Regions from separate parts of the Homo sapiens genome. Here all the other regions are linked to region 3. Evidence: promoter capture Hi-C in human tissues and cell types (Jung and others, 2019). All regions are on one chromosome and are shown on one strand. Each heading gives the region's core, a stretch centred on a gene start or on the middle of the fragment in contact. The rest is flanking DNA. Distances are from core to core; before and after follow the strand shown. Region 1 overlaps FKBP15 (FKBP prolyl isomerase family member 15). Region 2 overlaps RGS3 (regulator of G protein signaling 3). Region 3 holds the start of HDHD3 (haloacid dehalogenase like hydrolase domain containing 3).

The links. The method cuts DNA at HindIII sites, captures the fragments that hold promoters and counts their contacts. A contact is called where the count stands out against the background at its distance.
Region 1: a fragment that was not itself captured here is called in contact with the fragment with the promoter of HDHD3 in region 3 in 2 of the 25 tissues and cell types used here (mesendoderm cells and pancreas).
Region 2: a fragment that was not itself captured here is called in contact with the fragment with the promoter of HDHD3 in region 3 in 1 of the 25 tissues and cell types used here (IMR-90 fibroblasts).

The regions. Positions count from the first base shown.
Region 1 is chr9:113,202,083-113,205,487 of GRCh38, reverse strand. FKBP15 (FKBP prolyl isomerase family member 15) reads left to right here. Exons shown (of 28, transcript NM_015258.2): 5 at 2,453-2,527; 6 at 2,859-2,957. Among named protein-coding and RNA genes, the nearest start is that of FKBP15, 17 kb to the left of the region's middle. The HindIII fragment of the contact is 9,656 bases long and covers 1-3,405 here.
Region 2 is chr9:113,518,133-113,521,271 of GRCh38, reverse strand. The region is part of intron 14 of RGS3 (regulator of G protein signaling 3); the gene reads right to left. Among named protein-coding and RNA genes, the nearest start is that of RGS3, 56 kb to the right of the region's middle. RefSeq lists enhancers at 971-1,020, 1,041-1,090, 2,807-3,096. The HindIII fragment of the contact is 5,054 bases long and covers 1-3,139 here.
Region 3 is chr9:113,375,736-113,379,322 of GRCh38, reverse strand. HDHD3 (haloacid dehalogenase like hydrolase domain containing 3) reads left to right here and starts at 2,337. Exons shown (of 3, transcript NM_001304509.2): 1 at 2,337-2,594. RefSeq lists a silencer at 1,966-2,485. The HindIII fragment of the contact is 17,820 bases long and covers 1-3,587 here.

The DNA of each region.
Region 1 (3,405 bases), core at 804-3,303, 170 kb after region 3:
ATTCTAGTAGGTGTGGAATGGTACTTTATTGTGGTTTTAATGTGCATTTTACCCAATGTCTAATGTTGAGTATCTTTTCATTTGCTTATTGACCATTCATGTATTTTCTGTGGAGAGATGTCTACTCAAGCCCTTTGTCCATTTTAAAAATTGGATTGTTTGTCTTTTTGTTGTGGAGTTGTAGTAGTCTTTTAATATATTCTGAGTATTAAACCCTTATTTGCAGATATTTTATAGATTATCTTTTCACTTTCTTGATAATGTCCTTTGATGTACAAAAGTTTTTAATTTTGGTGAAGTCCATATTATCAAGTTTTTTCTTTTGTTACTTGTACTTTTGGTGTTTTATCTGAGAATCCATTACCAAAACCAAGGTCATGACGATTCACCTCTACGTTTTCTTCTAAGAGTTTTATGATTTTATCCCTCATGTTGTTTTATATACAAGTTGGGCCTACGGTAAAAAATTACTTGACATGTGAAGAGGTGGGAAAATGTAACTAATAATCAAGGGAACAAATAAACTAGGAGCAGACTCACAAATAACCTAGATATTGCAGTTAACATACAAGGCACTTAAAACAACTAGGAATAATATCTTAAAGAAAATAGAGGAAAAGTACAAAAGGGATGAAAAGATGGAGAATTTAAAAAGTTAGAATCTATAAGAATAATCACATGGCAGTCTAGATTTGAAAAATACAATTTCTGAAACTAAGAACATATTGGATGGGTTTAACAGAGTCAGAATACAGCAGGAGACAGAATTAGTGACTTCGAAGGCAGTAACATAGAAAATATTCAGACTGAAGCACAGAGAGAAGAAATAATAGAAAGAGACCAGGGCAAAGATTGATGTGGGACATGGTCTAACGTCCATGTAATTGGAATCCAAAGACAGTAGAATTATATCTTTAAAGTACTGAAAGGAAAACAAAACCCTGCCTATTACAGAATTCTATAGCAACAAAAATATCCTTCAAAAATGAAGGCAAAATAAATTTTCAGCCAAACAAAAGTGAGAGAATTCATTGTAGTAGATTTGCACTACAAGGAACATTAAAGGACATTCTTTAAGTTGAGGGAAACGAATGTCTGTGTCTTTCAAAAGACATGGAGAGGCTGGGCGCGGTGGCTTACGCCTGCAATCCCAGCACTTTGGAAAGCCAAGGCTGAGGTCGGGAGTTCAAGGCCAGCCTGACCAACATGGAGAAACCCCGTGTCTACTAAAAATACAAAAAAATTAGCCAGGTGTGATGGCACATGCCTGTAATCCCAGCTACTTGGGAGGCTGGGGCAGGAGAATTGCTTGAACCTGGGAGGTGGAGGTTGCGGTAAGCTGAGATCATGCCATTGCACTCCAGCCTGGGCAACAAGAGTGAAACGTCATCTCAAAAAAAAATGACGTGGAGAATGTTCATAGAAGTATCATTCATAATAGCCTCTAGCTGGAAACAACTCAAATGTTCATAAACAGGAGAATGAATGAAGAGTTTATGGTATATTCACATAATAGAATACTACATGACAATAAAAGAGAATAAAGTCCTGGAACATGAAGTATCAAGGCTTACTCTTATAGATACGGTGAGTGAAAGAAGCAAGACAAAAGAGTATACTCTGTATAATCCTATTTATACAAATTTAAGAATAGCAAAATTGTCTGGGTGCGGTGGCTCACACCTGTAATCTCAGCACTTTGGGAGGCCAAGGTGGGCGGATCACCTGAGGTCAGGAGTTCAAGACCAGCCTGGCCAACATGGTGAAACCTGGTCTCTACTAAAAATACAAAATTAGTAGGGTGTGGTGGCGTGCACCTGTAGTCTCAGCTGCTCGGGAGCCTGAGGCAGGAGAATTGCTTGAACCCGGGAGGCAGTGGTTGCAGTGAGCCGAGATTGCGCCACTGCACTCCAGCCTGGGCGACAGAGAGACTCTGTCTCAAAAAGAAAAAAAAAAAAAGCAAAATTAATCAGCGACAGAAGTCAGAATATTGGTTATCTCAGGGTGGGGATTATTGACTAGGAAGGGCATGAGGGAGCTTCCTGTGGTGTGGGAAATGCTCTGCTATTTTTTAAATCTGGTTGATGGTCACGTGGGCACATATATGTATAATGAACATGTATTTTATGTTTTTCATCAATTTAAAAACAATTTGTATTTTCTTTTACACAACCAGCCACTCTTAGTCACCCCTTGTATAAATGAAAACACCAACAAAATGAAGACATTGCCAATTACAGTTAAACAGTAAGACCAAAATGAGAAGAGATTAATGTGGATAGTGAGAAGATAAAATTTAAAGTTGAAGCCTTAAAGGATGAATAGATTTTGAGTTTAGTATGAAGCACAACCTTTGATACTTATTGCTGATTTTATATTGCTGATTTTATATTGCCTTTTAACTTCTGCTGTCTCTCTTTTTTTTTTTCTATCTGTCGTTGCTTGTCTACAGTATAGGATTCTTCTTTATATCAGTCAACAACAGCCAGTTACGGTTGCTAGGATTCATGTGAACTTTGAGCTAATGGTAAGACTTCATCATATTGGAATCATTAGCTCCTTCGGGATAGGTTTACAGGAGAGACTGGTCTGATTGTACCTAATAGAAATTAGATCCACTGGTTCAGCCCTGGGTGTCCTTGTGAGTATCTAACAGAACCTTTCAGAAAGGTCTCTTGGCTCCTTCTAGGAATGTGGACTGAAGGGTGAATCGTAGAGGGTGAGAGGGAAGAAGAAAGATCTCTGATAGTTCCCTTTGGGTCCACCTGAGTCAAGACCCTACTCTATGAGCTTAGGCCGTCATGTTTATCTGGTATAATACTGCTTGTGGATGAATTTAACATTTCTCCTTTCTCCAGGTTCGGCCCAATAACTATAGCACCTTTTATGATGACCAGAGACAGAACTGGTCCATCATGTTTGAGTCGGAAAAGGCTGCTGTGGAGTTCAATAAGCAGGTGATAACATCTTACTCTCCCTGTGAAAAGCCAAAATACTTGTTTGGATTTCCCTTAATTTTAGGGAAACATATAGAAAACCCATAATCTGCTGTGTTTTGTTAGTGACTAGCATAAAAAACCCACTAAATTTGCCACTTCGGCCTATTGTATGATTTCAGGAAAATAATAGGAATACTTACTGAAACTGCTTGACAATTTAGCCTTTTTCTTTTTTAACAGAGAAAGACTAAATGTAATCTTATTATATTAAAAAATTTTCTACTACATAAATTATCTTAAGGAATAAATAAAACTATCTTTAAAAAATAGTGTTTTCAAAGAATGTTTTAGGCTGGGTGTGGTGGTTCATGCCACGCTTGTAATCCCAGCATTTTGGGAGGCCGAGGCAGGTGGATCACTTGAGCCTAGGAGTTCAAGATCAGCCTGGGCAACATAGTGAAACCCC
Region 2 (3,139 bases), core at 599-3,098, 140 kb before region 3:
GCTGCAGAGACAACAGGGAGACGTCCTTGAAGGAGCTCTCAGGGGCTTTGGCTTCTCCAATGGGGCCCAAACATGAGGACTCCAGAACCCTGGGCTATAAGGCATCTTGGTAGTGACCCTAACCCTTCCCACCACAGCCCTGTCTCAGTGCAGCCCAAGAGAAGTCTTCAAGTGTTGAACGCTTCCTTTCTGCTCAGTGGATCCTCACTTATAAATAACACCACTGCCCTCATTTACAGATGAGGACCCTAGAGCTCAGACAGGTTAAGTGACCTGTCCATGGCCACACAGCCAGGGACCATTACCCAGGTATAGCTGACCTAAAGCTATCACTATACAGAGAGATACCAATGTGCTTACAGCTGTGCAGTTCCTGAATGTGAAAGAATCCAGAGACCAAAGAGGTGGAGCAAATGAGGCAAAAATAATAATTAATAATAATAATGATAATAATAATGTTAAGAGATGAGGTGAAGAAAATGACTCAAGAGCTCAGAAGGAGTCAAGGAATTGGTTGTCTGAGAAGACTTCAAAGTCCGAGCAATGGAAAGAAGGCTCTAAACTAGCCAGAAACACAAAGCAAACCCTCAGGGTCCCACAAAACGTGTCGCTGACTCAAGGGAAATCTGGTAGTCACCTCCAGACCCAGAGGGAGGCTGGCAGGGGAAGGGCTGGAGCCGACAATCTGTCAGGAGCCTAGAAAGTTTAAAAAAAAAAAAAAAAAAAAAACAGCCCAGGCCCAGAGAGGGGTGGAAGTAGGGCAAGTAGGAGGAGCCACCAGCAACTGGGGAAGAACCATGAGCAAGGTGAGAAAAGGCCCAGGCCACCACTCTGGCTCAGATTCCCAGGGCTGAGAATATGGTCTAGACAGGAAGTGATTAAGGCATAAATGAAAAATTTCCCAAAGGTTGGGTCAGGGAAAGGCCAGAGCTGGCACACAGCTGGAGGCAGAGCAGAGGGGCAAGCGTGCCGGGGAGGGCATGTGGACTCCCCCATCTCACCAGCACCAGCAGGGGCCACGGCAGCCCATGGGAGAGTGATGCCCATCTCCATGGCCCAATCACCTGTCGCCTTCCACAGGCCACGGGGGTCACCCAGTGTCTTCCCCACACTTGCTCCAAGGACACATCTGATTTTCCAAAGGGTCAGAGTTGAGGGATCACTTGGTAAGGGGGTCCTTACCACTTGGAGGGTGGCTTCTCCCAAGTGGCCCTAACTAAGCTTCTTCTTGGGAATCTGACCTAAGAGCAGAGTTTACCAAAAAGACTTTGGTGCCTTAGTTAATGGTAAACTCCATGAGTCAGTGTGTAAAGGGAGGGTGTGTCTGTCTTGTGCTTCATGGTATTCCCAGAACCTCGCACAGGGCCATAGACCTCAGGGCACATTAATCAAGTCTATTACTTCTGGAAGGGGCTGTGATGAGGGTAGTTCACGGTGCGGGACTGGATCAGCTCACAGATGTTAGCAAACTTGAGCATGCCCAGAGAAGTGATGGGACAAAGAACCAAGGAGGAACATTCCACAAATAAAGATTTCTGTTGAGTGTAAGGGAGAATGCTCTACAATTTAGCCCTTCCCAGTAAAAAAAAAAACCACTGCTCTAATGGGCTGCCCTAGAAGATTCAAGCACCAATCAGAAAACCATTTAACTGGAAAGTTACAAGGAAGCAATTAGCATGGATGACTCCTGAAAGCCTAACCAATGCTGAGATTTCATGAATTTATCCAAATCCCTTTGAATTTTTTTTTTTTTTTTTTTTTGGTGTGAGTAATATGACAGGATGCCCAGATCTACATGTTTGGTTGCCATCATACTTCAACAAAAAGGAATACATTAATATTTATTTTACTTGTCTTCAAATTGTTTCCTTCAATCTTCAAGGCTAAGGGAGAGGGGTCTCTTGGTTCTAAGTCTCCAGAGATCTATAAGGCAGGGTTTTCTGGACGAATTGCAACTGTCACAAGGCTCTGGCTTCAGCTTGTGTTCCTTAGTTTGTCTTTATGCAGACATGCCAGAAGCAGTGTGGGGTCATGGAAAGCATCACTGAGCCAGAAATGACCCGGCTCCATTCCTTACCAGCCTGGAGACTCTTGGGTCCCAGTGAATCTCACTGGAGCCTCAGTTGCCTTAACTACAGAGTGGGGACAATCGTGCCTTTCATGGGGGTGCTGCAAGAGCTAATTGGGGTCAAGTATGTAAAATGCATACACAATGAGGATACACAATAAGTGCTCAATGTTTGCAGATTCAAGGGTAAGTGGACAAACAGAAGAGTGAATTTAGACTTATGTATATGTTTCAGGGTGGCTGCCATCTCTAACTGGCTTCTTATGAGTCTGTGAATTTATGGCCACACCTCAATTTCTGACCCTTGGATGCCAGACTTAGGTCCACCACACTCTCATTCACCAAACATAGCTCTAAGTGACTTCTCATCCCTAAAACTTAAATCCCTCCCAACAGATGAAGTTTTACTCCCACTGAGACAATTCAGAAGATATGCAAAGATTGTTAAGTTCCCAAAGTTTGCAAAGTTCCCAAGAGGAGGTTCGGAAAAGAGGAGGTCCAGAAATACAGTAGGCAACAGCGAGCGGTGGAAGGGAGCATGCAGTCCCCCAGGGCACTCCCTTGAAAAAGATAATGTACATTTGGAATAGATGAGTTCCAGTCCAGTCTGCTTACTTAAAAAACAAACCAACCTCCTGCTTCAGCCACAGTCACACATAGTGTCCCAGAAGGCTGAGGTTTAAAGCGTCCTTACAGACCAACCTCTGACCCTGCCCTTACTGCCTCAAATACACACATACCTACTGCTCAGATGGAAAGACTGAGGAAGAAGGAAGAAATCACATGTGAGCCAGCAGCAGACCTGGGTCTCGATACAAACTTCCTGTCTCCAAGTTTCCTGATCTTTCCACTACCCCAAGCTGCCACTCGACTCAGCCAAGGCAGCTCTACATTGGGGCCTGATCTGCAAAGAGCCTGCTACCCTCACCCCATGGCCCCAGGTAGCCAGGGCAGAGCCCAGGGCTCCAACTTCTGTACCCAAGTAGTTTAAGCTCAGAGACTGAACTGACCAGCTCTGGGGTTGTGTAGATGAATGAAGTTCTCCCAATTAGAGAAAAGCATCCCAGGCCA
Region 3 (3,587 bases), core at 1,088-3,587:
TGTTTTCTTGCTGACCTTCTCCTCACTATCAGCCCGCTCTCCTATCGCATTCTTCTTGCTGAGATAGTGAAAATAGTAATCAATAAATACTGAGGGAACTCAGAGACCAGTGCCAGAGCAGGTCCTCCGTATGCTGAGCGCCGGTCTCCTGGGCCCACTGTTCTTTCTCCATACTTTGTCTCGGTGTCTTATTTCTTTTCTCAGTCTCTCGTCCCACCTGATGAGAAATACCCACAGGTGTGGAGGGGCAGGCCACCCCTTCACATGTAGAAACAGGATTGCACAAAACGCTAATAGACTGAATAGAGAAACCCACCAAGACCCATCTGTGTAGATTCTTCTTGGCCTCTCTGTGCAGTGTTCCTTCCTCCAGGGTATGCGGCAAGACCCTCTCAAAGGGGCCTGGGTGGTGGGGGCTGTCTTATGACCTGTCTTGCCTAAGGTCATAGTGCAAGGTGATGAGACTAAAGAGGAACAGAGCACAGGCACAGAAGTATCTCAAAGCTTCCCCTCCGGTACCTCCCCAGCCTCTTTGGCCCAAACCCCCTGGCTAGCAACATTCCTATAGTTCCTCAGTGTCTCTTTGGTTCGGAAAAAAAACTTTCTTGCCTGGAGGCCTTTGCATCAGGGGGTCCCTTAACCATCACTCAGATCCTTCCCCTCTGCATGGCCAACTCTCATATGTTTGTATTTTTTAGTTTTTTGAGACTAACATGCATTACATGCATACCTTATTTATTTATTATTTTTTTATTTTTTTATTTTTTTGAGATGGAGTTTTGCTCTTGTTACCCAGGCTGGAATACAGTAGCCTGATCTTGGCTCACTGCAACCTCCACCTCCCCGGTTCAAGCGATTCTCCTTCCTCAGCCTCCCAAGTAGCTGGGAATACAGGCATGAACCACCTCGCCTAATTTTGTATTTTTAGTAGAGACGGGGTTTCACCGTGTTGGCCAGGCTAGTCTTGAACTCCTGACCTCAGGTGATCCACCCACCTCAGCCTCCCAAAGTGCTGGCATTACAGGCGTGAGCCACCGCGCCCAGCCAACATACATTACTTTTGCAAACAAAGATAAAACTCTTTTTTTATTCTTCAAAAGAATAAAAAAGCTCCCTGGTGGTCTAGTGGTTAGGATTCCAGGCTCTTACCACAGGGATCTTTTTTTTTTTTTTTTTTTTTGGGGACACAGTCTCGCTCTTTGCCCAGGCAAATATTGTGCAGTGGCAGAATCTTGGCTCACTGTAAGCTCCGCCTCCCGGGTTCATGCCATTCTCCTGCCTCAGCCTCCCGAGTAGCTGGGACTACAGGCACCTGCCACCATGCCCGGCTAATTTTTTGTATTTTTAGCAGAGACAGGGTTTCACCGTGTTAGCCAGGATGGTACCACAGGGTTCTTAAAAACAAAAAGAGGCCAGGTGCGGTGGCTCATGCCTGTAATCCCAGCACTTTGGGAGGCTGAGGTGGGCGGATCACCTGAGGTCAGGAGTTCAAGACTAGCCAGGCCAACACGGCGAAACCCTGTCTCTACTAAAAATACAAAAATTAGTTGGGTGTGGTGGCACACACCTGTAATCCCAGCTACTGGGGAGTCTGAGGCAGGAGAATCGCAAGAAACTGGGAGGCGGGGGTTGCAGTGGGCTATCGCGCCACTGCACTCCAGCCTGAGCGACAGAGGGAGACTCCGTCTCAAAAAAAAAAAAAGAGAAAGAATAAAAAAGCAGGTTACTGCAGCGGACTCTACCCTCACCAAGTTATCTTGGATTTAACAAGTTTCCAACTGAAAGCAATTCCCTCCAATACCAACTGGGGACCCTGAGACCAGAGAGGGGCTGGGCCTTGCCCAGGTTCACACAACACTAAGCAAGCCAGGCTGGGTCCCAACTCCCCTCCTCCCACTCAACCTGGGTACTTCTCGGGGGTTTCCCGATCCAAAGGAGGCCAGGAGCCGGGGTTGGGGATGGGGAGCGGAGACAGCGGTGAGGAGCGGCGGTGTGGCGGGCAGGGGGTGCGCAGACAGGGCGGAGAAGGTGCTGGTAACGGGGGCTGCGGAGCGGAAGGGTGCGGGCTGGGGAACCTCAGAGGGTGCGGGGAGGGAATAAGGGGCGTAGATGGTGCAGGGTAACGGAGGCGCGCAGTGAAGGCGGGTGACAGGGGCGCAGAGAGGTGCACAGTGAGACGAAGGAGGGAGAGGGGACGGCGAGGGCGACGGGAGATGGGGCGGGAGAGGGCGAAGGTGAGGGGGATAAGGGCGGGGACGGGGCGGGGACAGAGGCGGGTCGGGATGGTAGGGAGGGGCGGCCCGCGCGATCCCCGCCCCACCGCCCGGCGCTTGCGCACCTCCGCCCGAGCTCGCGGGCCTTGCGGCTGCGTTTTCAATCTGCTTCCTTGTGAGTCAGGTGGGTCCTGGGCCCAGGAACCGGCCCGGAGCCGTGGACGCCCTACAGCTGAGAAGGGGACCCAAGGGGTCGGCCGCGGCCAAGGCCCCTAGGACCGCCGCCCCAGCTCACGCTGCCGACGGCAGCTATAGACATTCTGCGTCAGGTCCGGGCTCCTGGACTTCGCCTTTCCCGAGCCCTGGAGGTGGGGAGAAAAGGTGAGCAGTTCGTGCCTGCAGCGCAGAGCCCCAAACCCGCGGTTTTAGAAATCGAAAAAGCCCTGCCGGGCGCGGTGGCTCACGCCTTTACCGTAATCCCAGCACTTTGGGAGGCCGGGGGGCGGGGTGGGGCGGGGGAGGATCACGAGTTCGGGAGTTCGAGACCAGCCTGGCTAACATAGTTGAAACCCCGTCTCCACTAAAAATACAAAAATTAGCCAGGTGTGGTGGCGCGCGCCTGTAGTCCCAGCTACTCTGGAGGCTAAGGAAGGAGAATCGCTTGAATCCGGGAGGCGGAAGTTGCAGTGAGCCGAGATCGCACCACTGTACACCTGGGTGACAGAGTGAGACTCTGTCTCAAAAAAAAAAAAAAAGAAAAAAAGCCGGCCGGGTATAGTGGCTCACGCCTGTAATCCTAACACTTTGGGAGGCTGAGGTCGGGAGTTCGAGACCAGCCTGGCCAACATGGAGAAACCCCGTCTCTACTAAAAATACAAAAAAAAAAGGAGCCGGGGATGGTGGCGCATGCCTGTAATCCCAGCTACTTGGGAGGCTGAGGCAGGAGAATCGCTTGAACCTGGGAGGCGGAGGTTGCAGTGAGCCGAGATCGCGCCATTGCACTTCAGCCTGGGCAACAAGAACGAAACTCCGCCTCAAAAAAAAAAAAAAAAAAAAAAAAAAGCCGTGGGTCAGGAGCCAGAGCCCTCTGCTCTAGTCTTAGCTGTGCCAATGTGACTCCCTGTGTGATTTGGGGGTAAATTACTGCCCCTCACTGGGTCTCTGTCTACCCACCTGCAAAATGAGAGGATCTTTGGATGAGTCTCCTTAATTCATTTCCTGGACAAACTTCCTCCAAGGCTCCCCCAGATTTACCAGTGACGCCCTTCCCTAAGTATCAACTTAGCCGTACTTTGAACTCTGGCCCCTCAGGTTTCAAGGGGACGGCCTTGTCTGGGATCAGCTCTGTCTGGGGAAAGAAGCTGCACCAGCCTC